2 separate regions of the Homo sapiens genome follow, and region 2 is linked to region 1. The links are contacts of gene promoters, found by promoter capture Hi-C in blood cells and fetal thymus (Javierre and others, 2016). All regions are on one chromosome and are shown on one strand. The core of a region is centred on a gene start or on the middle of the fragment in contact, and the rest is flanking DNA. Distances in the headings are between cores, read along the strand shown.

Region 1 (4,597 bases), core at 425-2,924:
GTAATTTTCTTACCAAAATAGAACCCAATATATGTACAGTAAATATTTAAGAAAATAAGTTTGTCCTTAGCTTTAACATGAATGTGTACATATAAATATACATATGTACACTCACAGGAGTAACATACATTGACAAAAAATTACACTTAGCAAAGGTCCAAAATTGCACAAAAAAAATCCCGCTAGGACTTTTTTGCTATCTTTGAGGTTGGACAAAGAATGTATAAAATTACTGAAGTAACAAAAAAGGACACAAAAACCACACTTCAAACAGACAAACTGCTTGTCAGTATTAGGACCTGATTTCACATACAGGTTTAATACACTTCCTCAAAAGTCATGCCATCAAGGTGAAGGATGAACATCTTCCACTACTGAATGAGGCTGGATGTCATTATTCTGAGAAGTAGGGTTCTCCTCCACATGGATTACTTTATCTGAGGTTCCTGCAGGAGAAACTTCATTATTTGTCTCCTCTTCACTAGGTGATAAGGTTTCAGGCAGTTCATTTGACATTAGAACTTGCAAAGGTTCTGTTCCATTTTCAACAACCACTTGAATCCCCAAAACTTTAAGAATATCACATTTGCAAATGGGGCATGTCCCATGGGGTAAAATCCAGGGGTCAATGCAATTCTTGTGGAAAAAATGTTTACAAGTCAGAATACGAACTATGTCATTAGGCTTATAGCGTTCAAAGCAAATTACGCAGCTATCCCCATTTGGATTTATTTCTTCATCCCCCTCTTTTACTACTCGAAGTTGGAGTTGTCCAAATGTGTTCTGAAGATCTGTTGTTAATCGCTGCCATCTCCGGTTCTGAATCCTTGCTAAACAAAGTCTATGAATGTGATAAAAGATGAAATATGCTAAGGTAGCAGTTGTGACAATCACAAAAGAGACCAAATAGTGATTCATCCAGATGATGTGCTTTCTCCCCACCTCAACCACGGCTGTAATGAGAACTCCCTTCTTAATTAAATGGAAAATTTCCGTGCCTTTTAAGTTACCAATCATAACCACAACGACATCTTCAAATGCCTGATGAAACATGGGGAACACCTGGTTGCCAGTACCTGGAACGTTATAGATGATCACTCCACTGGCTCCCTTCTCAGTTGCCACTTTAATTTTCTGTGTGAAGGTACAACCTCCCCGTTCAATAAGTGCAAGCCAGGTCTCTGAGTACTTTGATCGGCTGAAAATGGTATTGGGATTACATGCATTTTGGATTTTTCCCTCTGGTGGCACTATAACTCCTGCCACTCTCTTCAAAGTGGAGCTTCTTCCAAAGACTCCAGTCTCTCCCAACTCTGACAACACATGATTCCCAACATGAAATGATATGTTCATATAAGCCATCCAAACAACACTTGCTCTGCAACAGTTCTGACTAACAAGCCAAAGAACACTGAACTTCATAAGCCAGGAAGAGGCAGTGTTGTTTCTCCAAGTGCCAACCTTGAGTAGATGCATCTCTCTCTTCTCCGAGTGACTTAAGAACCAACCTAACAGTTGCACATCTGTTGACAATTAATTTAAAATAACGAAGAGAAAAAAATCTTCAGGATACAAACAAGATCCACTGTCTTCCAGCATGTTTTTGTAAGAAATTCTTAAAGATGGCTTATGAGTTTCAGATGTCTTACTAGAGAGAGGTGAAAAACTTTAGATTGAAAAATAAATCCCCTACTGTTAACTCTAGATACTGCTTACTATTGTGTGATGTGATTATGACATGCAAGACCCAGCAGCCAATTAGATAAGAGCTTAGAGCATACTGTGAATTTATTGGCTTAAATGCTGTTATGGGTGATTTCTATGTTGTTATAAGATGGATATAATCACTGAGCTACATATAATGGTAGTAGATAGCACATTAAACTAAAAATTAAATCTAAAATTCATACAATGTGTGCTCTTTAAAGCCTGAAAGCACATGTAAGAATGTTTTATTTTCCCAGCAAGTGAAGGAGATATTTCCAACAAAATGGCAAGCTAAAAAAAAGGATAATTAAAAATTAGTGCAGTGACCGGATGTGAGGCAAAAGTGGTGAGCTTAGTGACATTATTTTTACATCAAAAAGTAAAAGTCACACTGCTAATTTTTGATTCATCACATAAACCATTATATTGCATTTATTTAATTTAAGCTTTCTGAGAAGTTTGTGGCTTTTGTTTTATGGTTTTGCTGTTTTAAAGTAAGGGATCCTGCTCAGTTTACTTCTGCCTCACTTTCTCTGTCTTACATTGACTGTACAAATGTAGTAAGACTGACAGGAGTAAAGAAAGGACTGATATCTAGGGAAGCTAATTTCTCTGCAGACTTTGATGTCTGTTATTAATCAAACAATATTTTGAAAGAGGAGGAGAAAGGGTGTCAAGGGAAAGATTAAATATAGTCATATTAGTTTGGCACAATTCATTTTTTAAAAAACAGCTATTAAGAAAAACTTCAAGGTGCACACTTAAAGTTAACCATTAGCAGCAATAAGTAGATGCTTTTATCAAACATTTTTGCAGAACTTAACAAATATCCCTATTAGAAGATTCCACAGGCTCTGTCCACTCTGCCTATGTTTTTGCCACAATCATGTCAGTGGCACAATATGACATCAAAGCTAAAGGATGGCATGTGGACTCACAAGCATAGTAAGTTCACAAGCAGCCACGCTGCTACTGGTACACTTTCTTGGCGGTGAATCTCAGTGGGTTTTTTCCCACCAGCTAGGAAACCGAGGCCAAAGATTCTGACCTTGAACATGAATGTCTCTGGTCTACATACGTAAAGTGCTAGAAGTCACTTTTGGTTGGAACTCACCAGGACTAAAGGAGCTGTTACTTCTTATGAAATGTAAATCTACAACATGGTAATTTGAGACAAGAAAGATGAAGGAACAAAGGGCCCTATGGGCCAACAAAAACTAGTATAAAAAGAATACTGATGATATAAAACATACCCATAAAGGTTGATTTTCTCTCCCAAAGGCCATTAATCCGATTTTATTTTCATACATCCCTGCACATTTTAAAAGGTAGTATATGGTGTGTATATTCACAAAGTGACACTGAGGTATCAAAAGTTTAGCATATCATCCAGAAACAGAAATTTTCATCAATACAACAATACCTAAATCTTTCTGTCTCTCATTGTTATATAGGTGTTTATTCATCTACTAGAAAAAAGGAAGATGCAAAATAAGGCAAAGAATATAACATCGAAAGGCAATTGAACAAAATTTTAGCTCTGCCCTATGTTATCAAAATGCCCCCAGAGAAACATTCATTACCATTTGGAGAGGAAAAGAGAAGCATTTACTAAGGACACTTCTAGAAAAGAAATCTGCTACCATAGCTGAGTCACTATGCTAGGATTTAAAGAGCTCTGGCAAACAAAAGTGAATGTTTGCAATGTTATCCTAAATGAAGCCTATAATAATTTAGAACACTTTTCCTTACATATCCAAAGTACTATCATCTAAAATAATTATTTAGAACACATTACCAATCCAGTGAGTAGCTTTGGAAACTAGATTTCCTGGGTATTAATAAAATTAATTAACCATGGAGAATCAGAGATATAAATTATTAGATACCAAAATTAGTCAAAATGTGGAAACAAAGTACAAGAATTAGTATTAAAAAAGGAAACTTTAAAATAGCATGGCTAATTCTCTATGGCAATGTCACAATCCTAGTAACTTGAAGAAAAAAAAATTTGTTTTTAACATATACTAATGTTCTTATTTGGATAAGGGCAAAAAGGGATACGATTAAGAAAATGTGGCACATATACACCATGGAATACTATGCAGCCATAAAAATGGATGAGTTCATGTCCTTTGTAGGGACATGGATGAAGCTGGAAACCATCATTCTCAGCGAACTATCGCAAGGACAAAAAACCAAACACCGCATGTTCTCACTCATAGGTGGGAATTGAACAATGAGAACACATGGACACAGGAAGGGGAACGTCACACACCGGGGCCTGTTGTGGGGTGGGGGAAGCGGGGAGGGATAGCATTTGGAGATATACCTAATGTTAAATGACGAGTTACTGGGTGCAGCACACCAACATGGCACATGTATACATATGTAACTAACCTGCACGTTGTGCCCATGTACCCTAAAACTTAAAGTATAATAAAAAATAAATAAATAAAATAAAATTCACCTAAAAAAACAATTAAAACTGATTAGAAAGACAAGAAGTTCAAATAGCTGGGCATGATAAGGAGTTTTATTTTTAAAACACAAATTTCACCCTTGTTCATACTTGGGTAGAGAAGCTGAAATTTTCTCTCTACATAAAGTACAATAAGACAATTTATCTAATCTTTGTATTTGGAAAGATCTGGTTACATCTTCAGAAAATTCTCCAGATTTCTTAAGTTTTCAGGATGTCACACTTGCACATGGGACATGTCCTATGGGCTAAAAGCCAGGGGTCAATGCATGCCTTATGGAAAAAATGTTTGCAAGTTAAAATGCGTACTACATCTTGGGGTTTGTATGTGTCAAAGCAAACAACACAGTTGTCTTCATTTAGGTCTAATTCCTCATCCCCTTCTTTGAGAACTCGCAGTTGAAGCTG
Region 2 (4,978 bases), core at 2,226-4,725, 460 kb after region 1:
TATTAAAAGACACTGGATGATATAAAACAAAAAAATCAAAACAGAAACAGGTTAATATGTTTGCCATGCTTTATGCCTTATGAATTAACCACACATTTTTTATTAATAAGGACCTTTAAAATATACATTATTGCTACTGCACATGAGCTGATGTTTATGCAAATATCATCAACAATTTATAAAGGCATTAAAATTCAGGGTAAAAATTCTACAGTAAATGCTAACACTAATATATCATAATGCAAATTAAAGGTTAAGAGGAGGAGTTTTTGAAGTGGAATGGTGAATGCACCATTTTTTTAATCTAGCCAGTAAACATGAGCTCCATGCATTCAGATTTATCATTATTTTTACCGAGTGCTTGTGTTCGCTGGGCTGAACACAGAAGAGATGATACTGAAGTAAAGGGTAAAGCATGAGGACTAGAGGGACAGTAGCAGAGGGCACTGAGCTGAAAAATAGGGCTCTTAAGAAAGCCTGATATGAGCCACTAAATGAGCCAACTAGTGGTACAGAAATTATACAAAGGGGGCAGGTATCACAGCAGATTAATCTTTAGTCTTCTGCCTAGATAGTAGTTTCAGCCTATGGCCACAGGACATTGTCACAGGTATATTATGAATGGAAAAGTACTTGTGTTATATAAGGATATTTATGTGAAGTGAAAAGTACAAAATGATGTAAAATTTTAAAACAAAAAATATTTCTACATATACACATGTGCCTGAAATGAAACATATATATATGTGGCTGAAGTAAAATATATCAAAATATTAAGGATAGTTATTTCTTAATCATGAGCTTAGTGGTATCTTCCACCTTCTTGATACTTTTTGTAACTTTTATTGCCAGAAATAAGTTTTTTTAACATATAAAGGAATTATAGACTATTAGGGCAGACAGGTAGTTAGAGATTATATGGTGTAAAGACCTAATATTTCAGAAGTGCAAAATGAGTCTCAAGTGTGACCCAGCTGATTACTACAGACTTGAAAGCAGAATCCATGTCTGTGAGTTCTCTCTCAGTGAATTTCCCCTGTACCAACTTGCCTTCCAGAATACTTTACTTCTATGAATTTTTAAAACTACATTTGAGTTCCATTTCATACTGCTTTTACCACAATGGTAACCTATTGTGTTTTTATTCAATCCCTTCTGTCTACCATACATGTGGAGTATGCCTTCCACATCTTCTTCCAAGTAACTGAAAAATTTCCTATGAGGACATGACCGAATGCAGAATCCAATGACATCATCACAGTGGACCTGTCACAACAGAAATCCTGCAGGTCCAGATGTAACTCACTATTGCCACCTGGTGGCAACGATTGCAGATTTCTTTCACAGCTTCCTTCACTGAATACGTATACTTTGTATCATCCTCCAATTATGGCTCTGTCATAATGTTGCTTATAGTACAGACTTCACATTTTCAATATGTTGCCTAGAGCTCTATTAACAGCTAGAAATATGATATACATTACTTTTCCTGCCCCTTCTGTAAGTTAGAATATGTCTTTTCCTTCTTTTACTTGCTTATTTTTTAAAGTACCTACTACTGAATCAGTCCCAAATATTCCCTGGTTGCTTAAACATTCTCTCAGAACAATCAAGTGATAGGATACCTAATTCACATCAATATTCTGCCAATTTTATTGTCTTGATGACATCTCTTTCAGGGCCTCCTTTCCTGTCCCAAACCTAGTTATTTTTTCTCTAGAACTGCAAAGAGCTATCTAGACTTAAGTCTTCCCTCTTATTTCATCAAAAGTCTGACTGGATATTGACTCTAGGTTGGAAATAAATGTTACTTAGAATTTTGAAGGCAGTTTTTCTGCTGTCTCTGAGTAGTGCTGCTGGGGAGAAGTATTCAGTCATTCATATTTTTGATCCTTTGTAAGGAATTAGTGTTTCTTCCTTTTTGAGAGCTTTTAGGGTCATCTTATAGTATTCTGAAAACTCAAAGATTTTAAAACAGACCTGCCCTGTGTGGGTCTGCTTCATTCATTTTGATGACATTTAGTGAGTCCTTTAATCATAAAACTTGTACTCTTCCATTGTAGAAACTTTCTTGAATTTTTAATATACTCTTCTCTTTTTTCCTATTCTTTTTTGGAAACTCCTCTTATTTCCTGTTTATTCTGTTTCTTTCTGTTTTGTCTACTGAATTTTCCATTTATGCTTTTATATCTCTATATTTTACATTTATACTTTATTTTATATTTACATATTTTGTATTTTTGCCTTCTTGATTCTCTTTTATAGAATACTATTTGTATTTGTATTTCATAAATACAAGTAATATATTTGTTTGCCTCTCTGATTATATTAATGATATTTTCTTTTTTATAGTCTCTTCTTCTTGCATAGTCTCTGTTTCCCGCAAATTGCTCTTTTTTCTTTTTATTTATTTGGCAATCTCTCTTTCATAATTGAGGCTTTCATCAGATATCCAGGAATTTTTGGTTGTCTGCTCACATTTCAGGCGGTGAATATTTGTGTAGAAGCTCTGCACTCGTATTTTGGGATTTGTTGTTGCCTGTAAGCTTCACTGTAATGTCATCTGACTTGGCCTTTTTTTGAGAAAATTCTAAGGTCAATGTTTTCATCTCTCTTAACGCTGATTGTGTTCTCCAAGGAAGCATCATCTGGCCTTCTGCCTGCTGACACCCGAAAGGCATAGACTTGGCTCCTGGACCAGTGTAGGTAGAAGGCCGGGTTCTCCATTTTCAACTTGTAAGCTATCGCTCAGTACCCCTGTTTTCCTTGTGACACCCTCCCCCAGCCCAGAACTGGATCTGGTTCTCCTTATCCCGTTTTACCTTGTCTGAAGATCATATTTCTGTTTGGTGGATTAGAAGCTGTTGCATCCATGTGGATTTGAGGAAGAAAGTAGAAGATTTAACTGCTTCACAAGCAATTTTTTCTTCCTCCTGCTTTTCAGCATTTTAAAAATGTTGAAGCCTGCTGCTATGGAAATTGAATTGTTTATTGGCTTTTTTCATTACCGATTTAGGATTCAGCTTCCATGGGATTACTGGGGATAATGGGGTTATTTTCCACTCATCTTTTTACTTTCCAGCTTCCAAAATGATTTTGCTGTCATGTCTTCTCTTGATGTTTATATAATTTGGATTATATTTGAAAGTCTATTTGTTCTTGTTTTAATGAAGACTTAGAAAAGTGGTAACAAATGGGCCTATTTAACCTGCCATCTTAATGGAAGATGCAATATTTATCTTTTTACATTTCAAAATTAAAGAAATAAATATTTACTAATAATTAATGCCCACTTTTGACCTTGGTGCTTTCGTGGTCCATATGTTGGTAGATGATGTAACTAAAAAGGGAACAGGAGAGTGGAAGTTCCATAGTGCACAGAGGAATTGAGACAGTGGGAACCTGTCCTTTTGGTCTGCATGTTGAGTTTAAAGATCCTCAGTTAAGTTAATAACAGATTATGTTATTTAATTAAACCAGCCTTCCTACAGTGTTCTAATGGTTTAAAATGTCTATAAGAAGATTATTTCTGTAAAGAAATTTTTTTTATAATGGATTCTTTATTAGACGAAGCTCTGATCACAATAGTTGATCCCTTTAGTTTTCCCATCCTTTTTCTTCTCCATGCCTTCTCTTTGGCCCTATCAGGAGCTCAAGTCCTTCTAGACCTTCTCAAGGCCTCATTCTTTACCAGGGCAAACCTATCCCTTCAGATGAATCACTGACAACTCTCCTGCTGTGCCTTCAACATCCCAGCAGGCTTATCATTTTGCTGTTCCCATCTTTATGGACCCTGAACTTCAGCTTAATATGAAAATCAATTTCTATGCTCTCTTGGATGCCACTGGAGAAAATCCCTTGGCTAAGCTCGCTGGTGCTGTGAGAAATCCACAACCTCTGACCTCAGATGGGCCTCAGTATCACTCTGCAACGTTTTCCTGTGTTTCTGCTTTCTTACAAGGGATACCTAAACTCTCCCCACATCCTTCTGTAAAGAAATTATTGAATGAAAGTACTAGATAAGTGAATAGCAAGAAATTGTAGGAGAGGATCTTCTCCTTACAGCTAGTATGAACTCTTCATGAAGATCTAGTGAAAATATAATCAGTAATAACCTGAAGAATTCAGAGGAGTTGGTAGTAAAATTGAAGTTATCGGTAAGACTCTGAAATAGAATTTTTATCCACCGTAGTTAATAAAGAACTATTACATATTGTGAATTTGGATATGTTTATAAAGTAATAAACATTTATTGTGTGTGATGAATAAAGAGATGTTTAAAATGTAGCATTAAGGACATGAGGCCTCTTTATAAATAAACTCTATTTTTCAGAAATGTTAAAAGTCATGATTAAATCCAATATTTACTTAAAAAATTTTATTGCCCTAAATGTTAACTATTTAGAAGCTTCCCTTATACTTTCTTAGGAAAAAGCATATGTGTATGTGTGTTTGTGTGTGTGTGCCACTGAGAAAAACCTTGCTCTTTCTAGTTGTAAAAATGACTGAAACAAAATATAATAACATAGCATATTTTTCTATCCAGCAGCATGACAAATCAGATTCCCATGCTAAATGAGATGCTATTTAAAATATTAAAAACAATCTTTTAAAGTGCAACAATCATTTTAAAGCTGGATTTAAAATAGGATTTCAGATTTCAGTGTATCATGTTGCAAGGAGAGCTTGGTATAAAAGATATTGCTCCAGGCCAAATGTGTGTGGGGAATCATACAAGAAAATACACATAAAGCTGGTATCCTTTGCAGAAGCAGAAAGAAAATATCATGCTGAATTAAGGGAAAACAATATCCCCTAAAAATTCCTAACCATGAGCATTTTTTCTTAAAGCACTAATTTATGTTATGTGTGTGTTAAAGAGAAATAGCAATATAATTGAAAACTCTTACAAGAAGCTGCAACATAGGACTTAAAGAATTTCCATAGTAACTAAAAAAAAATTTCAATGTTTAAAAGT

The links. The method cuts DNA at HindIII sites, captures the fragments that hold promoters and counts their contacts. A CHiCAGO score of 5 or more calls a contact.
Region 2: a contact is called between a fragment that was not itself captured here and the fragment with the promoter of RNF133 in region 1, in 1 of 17 cell types (endothelial precursors). The highest score is 5.8, in endothelial precursors.

What each region holds. Positions count from the first base shown.
Region 1 is chr7:122,697,443-122,702,039 of GRCh38, forward strand. It overlaps RNF133 (ring finger protein 133), which reads right to left and starts at 1,675. Exons shown (of 1, transcript NM_139175.2): 1 at 293-1,675. The coding sequence starts at 1,476. The coding sequence ends at 346. All of the region lies in intron 2 of CADPS2 (calcium dependent secretion activator 2), which reads right to left. It overlaps RNF148 (ring finger protein 148), which reads right to left. Exons shown (of 1, transcript NM_198085.2): 1 at 4,226-4,597. The coding sequence ends at 4,391. The HindIII fragment of the contact is 4,309 bases long and covers 1-2,151 here.
Region 2 is chr7:123,153,134-123,158,111 of GRCh38, forward strand. The region is part of intron 6 of SLC13A1 (solute carrier family 13 member 1); the gene reads right to left. Among named protein-coding and RNA genes, the nearest start is that of SLC13A1, 44 kb to the right of the region's middle. The HindIII fragment of the contact is 1,862 bases long and covers 2,545-4,406 here.